Linked DNA regions of Homo sapiens: regions 1 and 2 are each linked to region 3. Evidence: promoter capture Hi-C in human tissues and cell types (Jung and others, 2019). All regions are on one chromosome and are shown on one strand. The core of a region is centred on a gene start or on the middle of the fragment in contact, and the rest is flanking DNA. Distances in the headings are between cores, read along the strand shown.

The links. The method cuts DNA at HindIII sites, captures the fragments that hold promoters and counts their contacts. A contact is called where the count stands out against the background at its distance.
Region 1: a contact is called between a fragment that was not itself captured here and the fragment with the promoter of SPATS2L in region 3, in 1 of the 25 tissues and cell types used here (IMR-90 fibroblasts).
Region 2: a fragment that was not itself captured here is called in contact with the fragment with the promoter of SPATS2L in region 3 in 4 of the 25 tissues and cell types used here (IMR-90 fibroblasts, liver, mesendoderm cells and 1 more).

Annotation. Positions count from the first base shown.
Region 1 is chr2:200,248,975-200,252,009 of GRCh38, reverse strand. No RefSeq gene overlaps it. Among named protein-coding and RNA genes, the nearest start is that of SPATS2L, 56 kb to the left of the region's middle. The HindIII fragment of the contact is 5,249 bases long and covers 1-3,035 here.
Region 2 is chr2:200,270,796-200,273,673 of GRCh38, reverse strand. No RefSeq gene overlaps it. Among named protein-coding and RNA genes, the nearest start is that of SPATS2L, 34 kb to the left of the region's middle. The HindIII fragment of the contact is 4,614 bases long and covers 1-2,878 here.
Region 3 is chr2:200,305,400-200,308,433 of GRCh38, reverse strand. It overlaps SPATS2L (spermatogenesis associated serine rich 2 like), which reads right to left and starts at 1,741. Exons shown (of 13, transcript NM_001100423.2): 1 at 1,512-1,741. RefSeq lists silencers at 777-1,106, 1,127-1,856 and an enhancer at 2,267-2,366. The HindIII fragment of the contact is 4,989 bases long and covers 1-3,034 here.

The sequences.
Region 1 (3,035 bases), core at 101-2,600, 56 kb after region 3:
ATAACTTATTTTTATGGAGGCAATCTAATGTTATATGATGTAGAAATTAAATTTTACTAACAAATATTGAATTACTATTATTTTGTTCTTAAAGTCAGAAGGAAAGTCCTACCAAAGCCAGAAAATATCATGTTTTAATACAGGTGTTTAATAGATTTAATCTTCTCTGAAAATAAGTAACATTTAAACAGAAAATAATTCTTGAAGTTCACAAGTTCCTAAATCTGTAAGACTTAAATGGCTTAAGGGCCAGCCAGAGAACCTGGATTTCATCAGGCAGACAACAGCAAGGAAATCATGTAGATGAAAACCCCCATTAACTCGTCATTTAGCATTAGGTATATCTCCTAAAGCTATCCCTCCCCGCTCCCCCCACCCCACAACAGTCCCCAGAGTGTGATGTTCCCCTTCCTGTGTCCATGTGTTCTCATTGTTCAATTCCCACCTATGAGTGAGAATATGCGGTGTTTGGTTTTTTGTTCTTGTGATAGTTTACTGAGAATGATGATTTCCAGTTTCATCCATGTCCCTACAAAGGACATGAACTCATCATTTTTTATGGCTGCATAGTATTCCATGGTGTATATGTGCCACATTTTCTTAATCCAGTCTATCATTGTTCGACATTTGGGTTGGTTCCAAGTCTTTGCTATTGTGAATAGTGCAGCAATAAACATACGTGCGCATGTGTCTTTATAGCAGCATGATTTATAGTCCTTTGGGTATATACCCAGTAATGGGATGGCTGGCTCACATGATATTTCCAGTTCTAGATCCCTGAGGAATTGCCACACTGACTTCCACAATGGTTGAACTAGTTTACAGTCCCACCAACAGTGTAAAAGTGTTCCTATTTCTCCACATCCTCTCCAGCACCTGTTGTTTCCTGACTTTTTAATGATTGCCATTCTAACTGGTGTGAGATGGTATCTCATTGTGGTTTTGATTTGCATTTCTCTGATGGCCAGTGATGGTGAGCATTTTTTCATGTGTTTTTTGGCTGCATAAATGTCTTCTTTTGAGAAGTTTTTCATGTCCTTCGCCCACTTTTTGATGGGGTTGTTTGTGTTTTTCTTGTAAATTTGTTTGAGTTCATTGTAGATTCTGGATATTAGCCCTTTGTCAGATGAGTAGGTTGCAAAAATTTTCTCCCATTTTGTAGGTTGCCTGTTCACTCTGATGGTAGTTTCTTTTGCTGTGCAGAAGCTCTTTAGTTTAATTAGATCCCATTTGTCAATTTTGGCTTTTGTTGCCATTGCTTTTGGTGTTTTAGACATGAAGTCCTTGCCCATGCCTATGTCCTGAATGGTAATGCCTAGGTTTTCTTCTAGGGTTTTTATGGTTTTAGGTCTAATGTTTAAGTCTTTAATCCATCACCAGCATGGCACATATATACATATGTAACTAACCTGCACATTGTGCACATGTACCCTAAAACTTAAAGTATAATAATAATTAAAAAAAAGAATAAGGAAATAAGGAGGCCACCGGGCTCATCTAAGCCTTCAGCTAGGCAAGAAAAGGACCTTTGGAGGCTCACATTCATTCTGTTCCTTCTGTTTACCACAATAAGATACAGCACAGGGTATTTTTTTTTTCAGTCGAAGTCTTGCTCTGTTGCCCAGGCTGCAGTGCAGTAGCACAATCTCAGCTCATGCAACCTCCATCTCCCAGGTTCAAGCAATTCTCCTGCCTCAGCCTCCCAAATAGCTGGATTATGGGCACATGCCACCATGCCCAGCTATTTTTTTGTATTTTTAGTAGAGATGTGATTTCACCATATTGGCCAGGCTGGTCTTGAACTCCTGGTCTCAAGCGATCTGCCTGCCTTGGCCTCCCAAAGTACTGGGACTACAGGTGTGAGCCACCGTGCCCAGCCAACACAGGGTAACATGGTCAAATCCTCAGCTGGCAATAATAGCATGCACGTTTGCCTTAATTGTCCTTTCCATCACAGTTTTTCCTTGGCAACCCAGGTGACAAAAAGCAGCTGGCAAGTTATTCAGATCTCTGCATTACACCGTCACCTATCAGAACTAACAGCATAGACATTACAGATGAGGAACAGCCTCAGAGTAGTTATGAGACAGGACTGCTCTTCCCCCTACATCCTGTTTCAATTACTTTTCACTCACTGAGAATGTGAAAAATAAAATGAATGTTTTAAAGAAGCATACTATATGAAAATACACATTTTGATTATTATTTATTCCTTGGTTGAGAGGCAGACTTTTAAGGTAAATTGACTTTAAGACAATCAGGCAATGCTAAAGACATAAACCAGCCTTAACATTTAAATAATAGGAACATCCTATGACCACCTCGACTCATTGATTTGTCATGTTCACTTATTGCTTCTTTTTCTCCTTCCAGGCAATTTTCTGGAAAGACTGAAAAGTTTTTGTTCTCATTTTCTTCAATATGGCAGTAATCCTAAATCTTAAAGCAATAAAAATAGACATTATAAATTCAAAAAAAAAAAAAAAAGAAAAAGAAAACCCCCATTTCCTTCCCTGAAAGGGAGAGTGACTTGTGGATTACCTAGATCATTGTCTCAGTTCTCTACCTTTAAAGATTACCTGAGAGATAAGCCAGGATAACATGAACGTATTTAATGTTGTTTAGTTCTCTAAATTCTTTAACAACATAAAGAGATTTACCTTTAATTGCGTCAGATCACCAAGCCAGGACTTAATCTGTTGAGGTCTTTGGTGCTGAAATCTAGTAAAGCCCTCAAAATGTTTCTTGTCAGGGATTCTGTGCCAGAAACAATCAATAGAGAATCGCAAAGGGAGGCTCATGTAAGTTAATGACACTTGGAATGTGATAGGTGCCTTGCAACATCACACTGATAATGCAGCTCTTCCTTATTTTTTTATTTTTTATTTTTTTTTTGAGACAGAGTCTCGCTCTGTCACCCAGGCTGGAGTGGAGTGCAGTGGTGTGATCTCGGCTCACTGCAACCTCCGCCTCTGGGGTTCAAGCGATTCTCCTGCCTCAGCTTCCTGAGTAGTTGGGATTACAGGCACGCACCA
Region 2 (2,878 bases), core at 222-2,721, 34 kb after region 3:
GCCAAAGTAGGTGGGGCTGTGTGATAATAGCTCTATGAGAATCTCACCACATATGCAAGGGGTGGGTTCTCCAAGGAAGGGATGGTAATAAACAAAAACAATGCCCAGTATAATATCTAAGTGGTTCATAGAACTCTAGTGGTCTTAAAAATAGATTACCGACTGCTCCTTTTTCCATCCACACTCTTCTTTTGTCATTCAAGGCAGTCCTTAATACACTGTGTACGCACTTGAGATAGGTCCAAATAAGACATGTACTAACCTACACCTAATAAATGTTAGGTTGTTGCTGCTTTCATTAAGCCAAATTTTTTTTTAATTAACTGAACAGTTTATTATTTTAGTTATTTCAGAGCCATGGTTTTGCTACGTGGCCCAGGCTGGACTCAAAGTCTTGGGCTTTTTAAACGATCCCCCACCTCAGACTCCCAAGTAGCTGAGATTACAGGCATGGGCCACTGCACCAGCTAAGCCAAATTCTTCTGTTAGGATAGCGTGCCATTGAGTGATATTTGGTAGACAAAAATACAGAGGAATATAAGCTTCTTAGGAGGCAGAATTTGGTTTCATGTTTATTTCTGCCATAACAATGAACATACAGTGTCTAGCACACGAAGGGCCTAAATGATTGTTTGTTAAGTAGGCCAACATGTCCTTTGGGGTCTTGGTAAATCCAATAGCTAAAGAATCTACATCTTCTGAGAACGTCCAGTTCTCCCAGACTCTTCCACACCAGAAATCCCATTTTTTTTTTCCTAAAGGATTTCCTTTAGCTAAAGACCTTGGGAAGAGTCTAGGCAGGTAACATACGAGATTGGCAAAGTGTGATGGCTGATGTTTTAGGGTTAGGCCTGATTTTAAAGTTTCTACTTTTCAATAAAATTTCCAATAAATTCGGTTACCTCAGTGTGATGGTGAATTTTATGTGTCAACTTCACTGGCCATGGAGTACCCAGATTAAACATTTCTGGGTGTGTCTGTGAGGGTGTTTCTGGATAAAATTAGCGTTTGAATTAGTGGACCCAGTAAAATAGGTTGCCCTCTTCAATGTAGAGGGACATCATCCAATCACAAAACGTGGAGGAAGGAGGAATTTCCACTTTTTGCTTCTTGCCTTCTTGTTTGAACTGGGACTTTGGTCTTCTCCTGCCCTTGGACTGAGATTTACATCACTGGCTTATTTTGGTTCTCAGGACTTTAGACTTGGACTGAATTACATGACTGGCTTTCCTAATAGCATGAGCCAGTTCCTCATAATAAATTTCTCTCCCTTTCTCTCTCTCTCTCTGAGAGATATATAGATATATGACAGACTGCATATAGTTTCTTTGGAGATCCTTGACTAATATACTCAGGCAAATTATTTAACCTCTTGGATCCACAGTTTCCCCTGGTAGTATTATCCTTAGTGAAAGGGTAATAAAAATATCTGCTTCACAGATTGATAGGAAGAACAACTGAAATAAAATTTGAGAAAATTGGCACATAATAATAGATATTGTTGAGGGAGCAGAGACAGGTACTGATAGGTGGACCAGAAACAAAAGAACCTAATATGGTAAGGGGTTGAATGGGGAAACCAAAGGCCCAGAAGACAAAATTTATTTATTTAAGTTTGCCCACTATGATGTATTTGTGCTGTTGTGACTACAAAATCTAAAATCATTGGTAGAGAAGATATATCCATTAATCAATTAATTGCTGCCAATCTTGCACCCCAAGGGCACAGCATCTATGGTTTGGTCACAGTATATTTTTTAAATTCATCTAGTGGCATCATAAGAAAATTTCGGGGATAGCTATCAAAATGAAACAACAATCACTCTGAGAGTAGATGCTAAAAAACTAACCGCAGAGTTGAGAACATCTTTGAGGGGGCACACCAGTTAGTGGCATTTGTATTAAGCTCAAAGATACATTCATAAGCTTTACTAGAATATGAAAATTTTAGAGAAATAGCATAGTATTAGACCTTACTTTTATAGTTACTAGAATGTAAAAATTCTCCCTAGAGACACAACCCTCCCCTCTATGGCTTATGCTGAATTAAGTGGTACTATATTTGAGGAAGTTTTACATTTTCCTCAATGCAAATCTATTTTAAGGTCAGCTAAGCTCAACCAAAAATAAAAGCCCAGCGTGGGCCTGCTGCTAATGCTTTCTACGTTGCATTTATAAAAGAGCTGGCTGGCTTATTGCTGTGTATTGGTATCTAGTAGAATTGTTGTTATATGTTGATTATTTCTGTGTTGGTCAACTAGGAACTACAAATGTCTATGCCCTGACAACGATTTTTAGCTGTATGTGACAAACTTGTAAAGCATGGGACTTACAGTTTTGAAAACATTTTGTACTGTGATTTTAGAAAAGAATACAATCTAAAATAACACACAGAAAAATTCAGTTCCACATTAGTCCTCCGTGGATCTGCACGTGGTTTTAGGATTGGCCCAGGGTTACTTCCAGCTCAGGTTGTCTCTTTTCTTCCCTCCCACAGGTCTGGGAGATTTGTCCCCTCTCTGGTTTCCTCTGGGGGAAAAAGGAAAGGCATACTTGAGATAATGGCAGAGAAGTTTTTAAATAATTACAAAAATAATTTTACCATGTACTCCTTTGGCAATTGTCACTGGTTGATAATGCCTGGTGGCTCTGCAACCCCCAGACCTCTCACAATCAACATGGCTAAAGCTTGAGTTAATTCTTTTCCTGCCAAACCTGTTGATTCATCGTTGCTTACTAATCTGTGCTGATGGCACCATTTCCACCCTGTCAACCTGACAAGAAACTTGAGTTACCCTTGAGTAGTCCTTGTCCTTTATATCTAATTGACCACCAAGTCCTTCCCCAGGATATATCCAAAAAGTTTTTAATTCCATTC
Region 3 (3,034 bases), core at 492-2,991:
GTTAAAATTCAACAAAGAATATCATACACAGATATTTTTAAACACGACAGTTACTAGATAAAACTGCCCTATCTAACAACACATTGCTTTCTGGTTAAGCAACACAATTTCATAAGGCCTATCAAATACTTTATCCAGACGGCCACTCTATTTTCAGGGTATTGGTTGTATTATTTGAAGTCTTTTTTTTTTTTCAGAGTGAAGAGATTTCTGACTTCCTGTCCTCTTCCCTGCTATATTACATACATCTGCTTAAACTCTGGAAAACAGTACCAGTCAAAGTGGTGCTGAAACCTTCCTTTAAGACAAACTAAAACGATGTTAAAAAGGTTACACGACCTTACTATTTCAAGTACTGGTATAAAACCACTTTCTCTGCACAGGTTCTAAAATTTCACAGTCGTTTGTCTTAAAGTCTGTCGGCTTGTGAGGGGGCTGGTACATATTTTAATATTTAAATTTCAAAAAATAAGCAATGAGACTGTGTTTGAAGTTCAAGGGTTTTCACTAGTTCTCAAGCTACAAACCCTGTAATATAGCCAAAAGAAAACGTACAGAAAGAATCTTTCACGAAAAGTGTCAGGTCTCCAAAACCCCGACATCTGCTAAAACCAGGATTGCGGGGGGGATGAGAAGCTCGTGAAGTTCAAAAACACACCAACCCCGCGGGAACACGAAACCTCCACTCGCGAAGACGCGACGCTTCCGCCGCATCCCCGCGCAGGTGAAGACTCGGCCCTTCAGCCCCGCGTGTGCGGCAGCATGATATTCAGAGTGCGCCGGCGTCCAGCGCGAGCGCATCCTACGACAACCCCGTCTCCCGCTGGGGTCCGCAGCCCGCGGACTCCGGGGTCCCCCCGCCCAAATGCGGCGGCGCGACCGCTTCGTCCCGCGGCCAGGGCGCTCCGCGTCTGCTCCGGCCACCCCAGCCCACCCGCGCAGCGCGGACGCCAACGCATCCCACTCCCGCTGGGCGCCAGGGGCGCGGGGTTCAGTGGGGCCGCGGCCCCCGCACCCGGCTGGGATCCGAGGGCGGGGTGGTCGCGGCTGACGTGGGCTTTGCGGCTCCGGGCCAGAGAGCAGCCTGGGGGACGGTGGGTCTCTTTCCGGCTTGGGAGGGAACGGGGGCGCCCGCGCGGGAGGACGGCAGGCGAGGGACGGCGGCCGCGGGCGATTCAGATCCGGGGCGGGCGGGTACACGTCGGAGCGCGGCGGCCACACGCTCGCCCGGGGAGCGCCACTGTGCGTCCCAGCCGGCGCCTCCTCCCGCTTGCCCGCGCCGGCTGGAGAAAGGAAGGACGGCGACCTTCGCGTCCGGTCCGCGCCACCAGCCCGCCTCGGCGCCGAGCGCGGGCCACACCCAGCGCTCCGGGAGGCGGCGGAGGCTGGGCGGCCCGGGCTGCGGAATGCTCGGCCCAGCCGAGTCTCCGTCCCGGCCGCGCAGGCCCCTCCGCGTCCGCCCGCGCCCTGCATCCCCAGCCGGCCCGGCGTGGAGGGGGTCCTGGGCTTACCTCTGTGTCGAGCGCCGGCTCCTCCGTCCCGGGCCGGAGCCGGGGCCCGGGGGCGCGGTCGCCAGGGGAGGCGCCGCGGCGGTGGCGGCCCCTGCGGCTCGGAGGGCGGGCCGAGCGGGAGCCGCTGCCTGGGCCGCGCGCCGTCCGGAGCTCGCCCCGCGCTGCCGGCGCTTGCAGCGGAGGGCGCAGCCAGCTCGGCCCCCGGACTGGATTCCTTCACTGACACAACTCCGGCTCGGCCGCCCCACGCAGGGACACTCCCGCCCCTCGCAGGCTGCCCCCGCCCGCCGACCCGCCCGCCTTCCCCTCGGTGTCACTCACCAGGAGCACACACCCCAGCCGGCGCCCCTCGCTCCCGCTCGCAAACACAGCGCTGCTCACGCCTCTCTCGGGTTTTGTATCCGCTCACACGCACGTTCTGACACAGATCTCGTCCCTCCACACGCCCTCCCTAGCTCCTTTCCCACCCCACTTTCTAGAAGAATCCCAGTACAGCTTCCGCACTTTGCTTGCTTGCTCCAGACCGACTTCCTCGCCTTTCCCCAAACCTCCACTTCACCGAAACTCCCCTTGTTAATGAAAGATTTTGTCACAATCCGCACGTGTTGCAAGAGAATCATCTTCTCCTACCCGAGAAAATGAACTTTGCTCCCTCAGCACTGTCTGCAAATACGAGATGTTTTTCCTTTTAGAAGGTAGTAATGCTTTCTGGAGAGGATCCAAGCTCAAAATGTAAGCAAAGATAGCCCATTCGAAAATGACCTGAAAAATCAGGCGCGGAAAAAGTGCTGGAGCTCGGGTCAGCCCTTGGAAACCCGACCAACCCGGGGTGTTCCGCCGCCTCCTCTGCGCTGCGGGTCTGCACACTGGGCTCCAAACGTGTGTGTAATAACCAAGTTACACATGGGCATCGTGGGCTTCAGCCGTGGGTTTCTGCCTGGGAGTACAGTAGTCGGGAGAGTAAAAGCAGTTTCTCAATCATTATTCATGATGGAAGCACTTTAGATAACACTCTTCTTCCAGAGGCAGTAGAGTGAAATGCAGGCAGCTCTCCAATTCAGGTTTTTATTTATTTATTTATTTATTTATTTATTTAGAAGGGTGACTTCTTAGCTTCCTTTTTTTTTTTTTTTTTTGGCAATACCAATAACTGTTTCTGAGTGGCTCCTTGGCTGTCAAGCTCCTTACAAATATCAGACCAGAGTTTGTTATGCTTCTCGAGCTCCAGACTCTAATGGGCCTCCGAGGGCACTGCAGAATCGTACATAATCCGATGTTCAGGAATTCATAATTTGAAATAAAATACAAACACCTTTCGGATAAAGTTCAAATCTGCTAACATAATGTGGCCCTGTTGACAACGCACTGCTGAAATAAAGAGAGGAGCTAAAACGAAAGGAATTCATTTTCTTATGTGACTTGGAGTGGTTCTTGCTACCTTATAGTCGCCTTGGATTGGTGTGTGGATAATATAATTTATTTAACAGACATTAGCAAGTGCTTTATAAGTACTAGCTCATTTA